Linked DNA regions of Homo sapiens: region 2 is linked to region 1. Evidence: promoter capture Hi-C in 16 types of primary human blood cells and fetal thymus (Javierre and others, 2016). All regions are on one chromosome and are shown on one strand. The core of a region is centred on a gene start or on the middle of the fragment in contact, and the rest is flanking DNA. Distances in the headings are between cores, read along the strand shown.

Region 1 (4,138 bases), core at 16-2,515:
TTGCCCAGGCTGGTCTCAAACTCTTGGACTCAAGCCATCCTCCTGCCTTGGCCTCCCAAAGTGCTGGGATTACAGGTGTGAGCTACTGCGCCCATCCCTGAATTCTTAATTACAACTAAACTAGATGCTTATGGATTTTCCTGTTTTACAACTCTTGCCTCTTTTATCTGTAATTTTAAGATCTTGACAGCTTATATTTGGCTTTGCTTTTGTGTCTCAAGAGTTCTTTCCTTGATAAGCCTCTGTGGAAACTACAGAATCTTACAAATATAAAACATTTCCGGAAAAAATACAAAAATGGACACCTGACATTTACACTCCCTAAGGTCGTGATCCTGTTGAAGAAAGGAGATGAACGCGGCTGCTTTTCAGTAGTTCTTCACTTCACCTTACCAGGTTCTTCATCTGGATGCTATGCTATGGGGGCCAGAGGAGGAGGCTGGGATTGTGATGGATCCTACTAGATTTTACAGCTGGAGCTCCCAGGAATGCCCTCATAGGGAATGTCCTGAAGGGAATCATGGGTAACTTGTAAGCTACCTCAACTTATTTTTGGAACTATGTAAGGTATAAGATGGATGGAGCTGGGTTCCTGTGCCTTTCTCACCTTGTCCGCATAGAGATGCAGCTGCTCCTGCAGGCCAAAGTTCTGCACCAATCACCTCCACCTGCTTCCCACTGGGAGACAAAGGTTTGAAAGCCTGTTTGGCGATGAACCACGATGATCTGACACTCAAGCCACTCCTGAGAAAGTCGGGTTTCTTTCTGTTTCCATTTATATATGTAATTTTCGCTTCAAACAAACATGACCTCGCTATTCTATGCACAGTTTTGAATCCTGCTTTTAAAATGCGATGTCTGCCTTGTCTTTAAATATTCTGAGGGGGAGGAGAGGAGATGTGTAATGCGACTGTCTATAATTTGAAACCGGACCTCACTATTTAGCGTCTCAGAAAACGCGGGGTTCATTGCCCTGGTCCCCCCCGCCTTCCCCCGCCCCCCGAACCTTCCGGCTGGCTCTCTTGCGGTCCCCGCCTCGGCGCTGATGTGGTCTGGCAGTGGAGATTGGCGCCCGGGCGGAGCACGATGGGCTTCCCCGCGGCAGGCAGGCAGGCTGCTGCTGCAGGTGGGTCCCGGCGCCCGCGCCGCCCCGCGCCTCCGGCGGTCGCCCCGCCCCTGCCCGCCCGCTCCGCTCCGCTCGCATTGGCGCTGCCTGCTGTCTGTCCCCGCGCGGTGGGGAGGGGGCGCACCCGGCGGCGGGCTCTGCAGAGGGCGCCTTGCTCCGGGTGCGACCGCGGCTCCCTGGAGGCCTGGGCGGCGGGCCCCGCGAGCGCGCCGCCACCTCGGGAGCAGTGTTGGCCAAGGACCCCGACGCCCTACGTAAGTAAAGGCAGGGCGGGGAGCCTGCGGGGGAGGAGGGTCGGGGGCAATGTCCGGTCCGCGGACCGCGGAGTGGGCAAGAGGTGCCCACTGGATACGGGGTATCCGAGCCCTCTGAGGTGCTGGGAGTAAGAACGCGGGAGGTCGCTTGTCCGCTGGAATCCGCGGCCAGGGCGACCCTCATCAGGTCTGCCCACCTATCCCCTTCGCGTTACAGCTTGTCTTAGAAGCATGGGTTGCCGGTGGCTTTTTTCCTTCTTTATCCCTCTTTGAGAAATGTGATTTTGGGTTTCTGGCCATTACATTATAATTCTGCAGACAGCCTGAAGCTGGGTTATCTGTTCCACGCCCCCGGCATTTTCCTTTTTGAGTACTTTATCCTGCGCTCTGTCTCCTGCCATAAGGGGCGTCAAGCCAGAATTCGAGATTCCTTCCTCCAGGAGGAAGCTTCGTGGTCCGTATCTGGTGCTGGGAAAGATGCATTGCTTTCCTCGGGTACTGGCTGCTCAAGGGAAAAAGGAAAGGGGGTGTTTTCTGTGACATGAGACTTGCAATTCCATCAGGAAATGAGCACAGGGACTTTAAGATTTCCTGAGGCGATAAAGCTACCCTTGCTGGTTAAGAGCGAATCATTTGCAGTCTGACATTCTGCAAAGTTTTATTGTCTACAGACTGCATTATTTTCCCTCGTTAGTTAAGTTTCTGTTTGGGTATTCGTTTTATTTCTAGTATGTGAGATACATTCAAGTGAGCTTCTCAAACGATTGTCTTTGCGCAATCCAGGTTAGTTTCCAATGACAGACTCCTAAACATCTCATTTCAATATTTCTATTATGTGGTAATACAGCCTCTGCTTAACAAAAATGCTCAGGTGCTGAAAACTCACAAGAGGTGAGAAGATTTAAACAGTTATCAGCTTAGGTTCTAGTGCTCACTGAAACATTGTGAGGAGAAACACTGTCAAATGTTCATATTTTAGTTCCGTCATTGTTCTAGAATGACTTTATCTTTCTGTTAGAGGCACACAGTATGAAACACCCAACCTAAGATAATATTTACTTAGATCATAAACTGATTTTCAGGGTTCCAGTTCCTTCTACAGTTCATAAAATTATGGGTTACCCAAATGAAACTTCAGTGAAGGATTTACATAAAAACAATATAAAGAATGAGTCCCTTTGCTTATTTTAGGGCATCCACCCACTAAAATTCATAGGATCTTTGTTGGATAATCACCTCCCATTTCCATTCTTTGGTGCCATCATACCATTCTAAGGATTAAATTTTCAATACACCTTTATATTATCTAAGTTTGCCAATTGCATAGTTTGCCAACTTATTTTTGGCTTTTAAATTAGTTCCTGAACCAAAAAAATAAAATATAAAGAATTTCAAAAGCTTGGTTTTCAAATGACAAGAACTCAGTCTACTCGTGGTTCAATTATGAGTTGATAAGTGCCTTATGGTTAAATGACCATTAATCAATTTTTTAATTTTTTTACTAATGAAACACTGCAGATTAGTATCCCCAAACAATTCATTTTCTGACGAAACTCTTAAAGCCCAGTTTCAGAACATAAGCTTTAAGCAACAAGCAATCTTGTGTTAATCTGAGCTCTGTTACAGCTCTGCCGTAATCTCAGCCAAATTGCTTCATCTGTACGTGGTGATACCACCATCTTTGTAATATTGTGGTGAGGATTAGAGATGTATGTAAAAGTGCATGCACTGCCTAATACCCAAGAATTGCTCAATAAATGTCAGCTATTACTACTCTTACTGACTTCCAACTATGTGCAGATTATGGTGGAAACATGTGATACAGCAGATACAGTACTTAAATGAAAATGTCAAAATTGTACAACTAATTTAAGAGTGGGAAATGACAGTAATGCTAAATTTTCCTAAGAATATGTATGAAAAATAGCACTTCCTTGATGGAACATACATTTTTAGAACAGAAACCTTATGTTATAATGGTAAAACTAGAGAGTCAAAGTCTCTAGTTCTAACTCTGGCTATGACCTTATCTAGTTGCATGGCTTTTGACAAGACAACTGCTCCCCTCTGGAGTTCAGTTTTGTCATCTGGCTGGATTTGAGTAATCTCAAATAATCTCTAAAGTCCTTTGCAGCTTTAAAATTATCTATTGAGTGTGATAAAGATTACATCAGCTTGCTTTTCATCCTGCACTTCATTTTTGGTTCTTGTTGTTTGCTTAACTTGCACTTTAGAGTCATAAGCAATTCACACAGACAACACAACTAAAGAACTGATAATATCAGACTTGCAGGGTAATCCAAAATGAAGTTTCAACAAGGAGGATAAAACAAAATAGAATCACACTGAACTCTTTAATAGGGCCAAAGTAAACCCCAATGTTTATTCTCCAGTCATTTCATTAAGTTATTATATGGAAAATATGCCTGGTAGAATCTTATACATTCACTGAAATAGTCTCCACAGAAAATAATAGGCTCATAGTGAAATAAAATACCACTTTCTTTTCTCTCATCAGGTTGATCTTTAAATAAAGCAAAAATTTATCCAAAGAAGGGCTTTCATCAAGAAATTAAAGAGAGAAATTACAAGCCATAGAGAAACTGGGCATTTCTATACTAGAGAAACCACCTAAAACAACTGTATGGAGTAAGATGAAAGGTATGAATATGCCTGGAAGAAATTTTACCTAGTGTGACATTTTTGCTCATCTTTTTGTCACAAAAGGCTGCTAAGGAAGAGAGAATACAGTTTTCTA
Region 2 (4,375 bases), core at 1,075-3,574, 110 kb before region 1:
AGTTTCGCTCTTGTGGCCCAGGCTGGAGTGCAATGGCATAATCTTGGCTAAATGCAATCTCCGCCTCCTAGGTTCAAGTGATTCCCCAGCCTCAGCTTCCCGAGTAGCTGGAATTACAGGCGCTTGTCACCATGCCTGGCTAATTTTTTTATTTTTAGTAGAGACAGGGTTTCACCATGTTGGCCAGGCTGATCGCAAACTCCTGACCTCAGGTGATCCGCCCACCTTGGCCTCCCAAACTGCTGAGATTACAGGCATGAGCCACCGCACCTGGCCCACAAAGATATTCTTTACAACATTATTCATAATAGAAAAAACTGAAACAATGCAAATGTCAAAAAAGAAAAATTATTATATGATAGATTATTCCCTAGAAATTAAGTTTTCAAAAATATTTATTAAGAAAAATTAACAATGATGTAGTTAATGAAAAAAGCAGGATTAAGAAAAACTATGTACATCTCAATGATGATAAAAATATACATGGAAAATAATCAGAGGGAAATATACCTATATTTAATACTAGTTATCGCAAAATGGTGGGATTACTGGTGATTTCAATTTTATTTCTATTATTTTCTACTTTACAAATCTTCACTAATACACATGATTTTTTAATTTTTTGAGACAGGGTCTCACCCTGCCGCTCAGGCTGGAGTGCAGTGGTGCAATCACAGCACACTGCAGCCTCGACCTCCCGTGCTCAACCCATCCTCCCACCTAAGCCTCCCCAGTAACTGGGACTACAAGTGTGCACCATGCCTGGCTAGTTCTTAAATTTTTTGTAGAGATGGGGTGTTGCCATGTTGTCCAGGCTGATCTCAAATTCCTGGGTTCCAGCTATCCACCCACCTCAGCCTCCCTAAGTGCTGGAATTACGGACATGAGCCACTATGCCCAGCTGAATTAATTTTATTATGAGAAAAAAATTAGTTATAAAATGTTATTACAAAAAAGTTATGGTAAATGTTTTAATCCATTACAAGAAATAACATATTAAGGAACAAGAATCAGAATGGCATATTTTCCTCAATAACAACCCTAGAGATTAGAAGACAATGAAGTCCGTGTGTGAAAATAAAGTCTAAACCCAGCTATCAATTGAGTATGATGATTCAAACAAAAAAAGACATTGTCATTCACACAAGGACCTCAAAAAATGTCGCTCTCCAAGGCACCATTTCTTAGGAAGCCATTGGAGGATGTGTTCCAGTAAAATAAGAAAGGAAACCAAAAAAGAGGAAGAAATGTGATTCGGCAAACAATGAAACCTAACCAGGAGATTAGAGAAGGAAAGTCATGGCATCATGGCTGTGCTCAGGCCCACAGAGTAAAATCCAGACTGAAGCAAGGGAATGAAGGACTTTGGGAGAGAAAAAATGGGAGATTTTTAAAGACTAAAGGATCATCTGATACAGATTTAGGCAGGAAAAAAACCTTGATAAATGAACACTGAAAATTAAACGTATGAAAATATAAGGAAGGTATTAACTGTAGGAAAAATAAAATGCAATACAAGAAAGAAAATGTACCAAGAATATAGTACTTCATGCTTTTGTAAACATTTAGTATCACGGTAAAGTAAATGCTGATTATGCATTTAGCTTAAAATATCAATATAACCAGATTGGGAAGATGAAAGGAGCAGGTAGGAAAGTGGTATGAGAGATGAAATTTCATCTATCATATAACAGGAAATCAACAACATGTCTAATATAGATAACTCGAGATAAGGCAGTTTAAAATTGTTTAGGAAAATGGAAGTTACTATCAGAAACAGCTAAAAGAGTTAAAGAGTTCCCTCTGGGAAATAAGAGAGGTACAGAAGAGGGCTGCTCCTTTTCAATAAAAGACTCTTGGTATATTTGATTTTGAAAAGTGTGTGTGTGTGTGTGTGTGTGTGTGTGTATAAAGGGTTAAAAAAATTCTAGGCTGGGTGCGGTGGCTCACGCCTGTAATCCCAGCACTTTGGGAGGTCGAGGCATGGGGATCACCTGAGGTCAGGAATTCGAGACCAGCCTGGCCAAGGTGGTGAAACCCCACCTCTACTAAAAATACAAAAATTCACTGGGCATGGTGGTGCACACCTGTAATCCCAGCTACTAGGGAGGCTGAGGCAGGAGAATTGCTTGAATCTGGGAGGCAGAGGTTGCAGTGAGCCGAGATTGCACCACTTCACTCCAGCCTTGGCAACAAGAGTGAAACTCCGTCTCAAAAACAAAAAACAAACAAACAAAAATTCTGAATACCTTCAGCCAAAAAATGGAAATCAACACTAAAATTACAAAAATACATAGAACACAGTGAAAAGAAACATTTCTTATAAAAATCTATTGGACAAGCTACAGAGGAACATTCAATAGTACTTACTCTTTTTCTGATTTAAAAACAAAAGACAAAAAAAGCACATTTACTTAAGAAGGGAAAAGAGAAAGTAGGGTGCAGATTTAATAAACATACTATATATATTCATTACATATAAACCAAAATAAACTAATAAAATGTGTATTTATTTATTTATTTATTTATTTTTGAGACAGTCTCGCTCTGTTGCCCAGGCTGGAGTGCAGTGCCACAATCTCAGCTCAATGCAACCTCCACCTCCCTGGTTCAAGTGATTCTCCTGCCTCAGCCTCCCAAGTAGCTGAGATTAGAGGTGCACACCACCATGCCCAGTTAACTTTTGCATTTTTAGTAGAGACAGGGTTTTACCACGTTGGTCAGGCTGGTCTCGAATTCCTGACCTCAAGTGATCTGCCCACCTCAGCCTCCCAAAATGCTGGGATTACAGGGTGAGCCAGCGTGCCAGGCCATAAAACGTATATTTTAAAAAAAGAACTGGCCAGGCACGGTGAATCATGCCTGTAATACTAGCACTTTGGGAGGCCGAGGCGGGAGAATCACTTGAGCTCAGCAGTTTGAGACCAGCCTGGGCAACATGGCGAAACCTCATCTCTACAAAAACTTCAAAAAGCTAGCCAGGCGTGGAGGCGTGCACCTATAGTTCCAGCTATCTGGGAGGCTGAGGCAGGAGGATCACTGGAGCCCTGAAGGTTGAGGCTTCAGTGAGCCATAATCATGCCACTGCACTCCAGCCTGGACAATAGACAGAGCCAGACCCTGTCTCAAAAAGAACCACTGGTTCTTTGGAAAGATAAAATAGATGCCTCAGGCAAGCCTGGTTAAAAAGGAAAGAGAGAAAGTGAAAATACACAATATTAGAAAGGAGGAATATACAGAATATATAGATATGCATACAGAATGGATACAGAATGCAAAGATAAAAATAATTCTAAGAGAACATTTTGCAACTTAGGGGCAGTAAATTGAAAATCTAAAAGAAATAAAGGCTGTAATTCCAGTACTTTGGGAGGCAGAGATGGGCGGATCATTTGAGCCACAAGGAGTTCAAGACCAGCCTGAGCAACATGGAAAGACCCCATTTCTACAAAAATTAGCTGGGCATAGTGGTGTGCACCTGTGGTCCCAGCTACTCGGGAGTCTGAGGCAAGAGGAGCACTTGAGCCTTAGGAGGTTGAGGCTACAGTGAATCGTGATGGTAACACCACATTCCAGCCTGGGAGGCAGAGCAAGACTGTCTCAAAAAAAAAAAAAAAAAGACAGTTCTCCCATGAGCTGGTCCAAACTGTTCCACCTTTAGAATCAAATTATTTATAAAATAAATAAGTGAAATTTTAAAAATACATTATTTCCTAGGAAACAATTTGACAATATACAGTGAAATCCAGAAAACCCAAGAACTCTAGTAAAGAAAACTATTAGGCCGGGCATGGTGGCTCACACCTGTAATCCCAGCACTTTGGGAGGCCAAGGTGGGCTGGTCATCTGAGGTCGGGAGTTCGAGACCAGCCTGAACAACATGGAGAAACACTGTCACTACTAAAAATACAAAATTAGACAGGTGTGGTGGCGCATGCCTGTAATCCCAGCTACTCAGGAGACTGAGGCAGGAGAATCGCTTGAGCTCGGGAGGCAGAGATTGCAGTGAGCCAAGATCGCGCCATTGCACTCCAGCCTAGGCAACAAGGGCAAAACTCCGTCTCAAAAAAGAAAAGAAAAGAAAACTGAATGCTCAATAAATATTGGATAAACAAATGAATGAGCCAAAAGACTAAATGAAGGCTGGGCGCAGTGGCTCATGCCTATAATCCCAGCACTTTGGGAGGCTGAGGCAGGCAGATAACGAGGTCAGGAGTTCAAGACCAGCCTGGCCAACATGGTGAAACCCTGCATCTCTACTAAAAACTGCAAAAATTAGCTGGGTGTGGTGGCACACACCTATAGTCCCAGCTACTCGGGAGGCTGAGGCAGGAGAATCATTGGAACCTGGGAGGTGGAGGTTGCAGTGAGCCGA

Evidence for each region. The method cuts DNA at HindIII sites, captures the fragments that hold promoters and counts their contacts. A CHiCAGO score of 5 or more calls a contact.
Region 2: a fragment that was not itself captured here is called in contact with the fragment with the promoter of AKAP5 in region 1 in 1 of 17 cell types (megakaryocytes); the score reaches 5.6 in megakaryocytes.

Annotation. Positions count from the first base shown.
Region 1 is chr14:64,464,234-64,468,371 of GRCh38, forward strand. It overlaps AKAP5 (A-kinase anchoring protein 5), which reads left to right and starts at 1,266. Exons shown (of 2, transcript NM_004857.3): 1 at 1,266-1,380; 2 at 3,899-4,138. It also overlaps a transcript of ZBTB25 not described here. RefSeq lists silencers at 1,061-1,460, 1,471-1,540. The HindIII fragment of the contact is 7,002 bases long and covers 1-1,825 here.
Region 2 is chr14:64,348,699-64,353,073 of GRCh38, forward strand. No RefSeq gene overlaps it. Among named protein-coding and RNA genes, the nearest start is that of MTHFD1, 37 kb to the right of the region's middle. The HindIII fragment of the contact is 7,082 bases long and covers 1-4,375 here.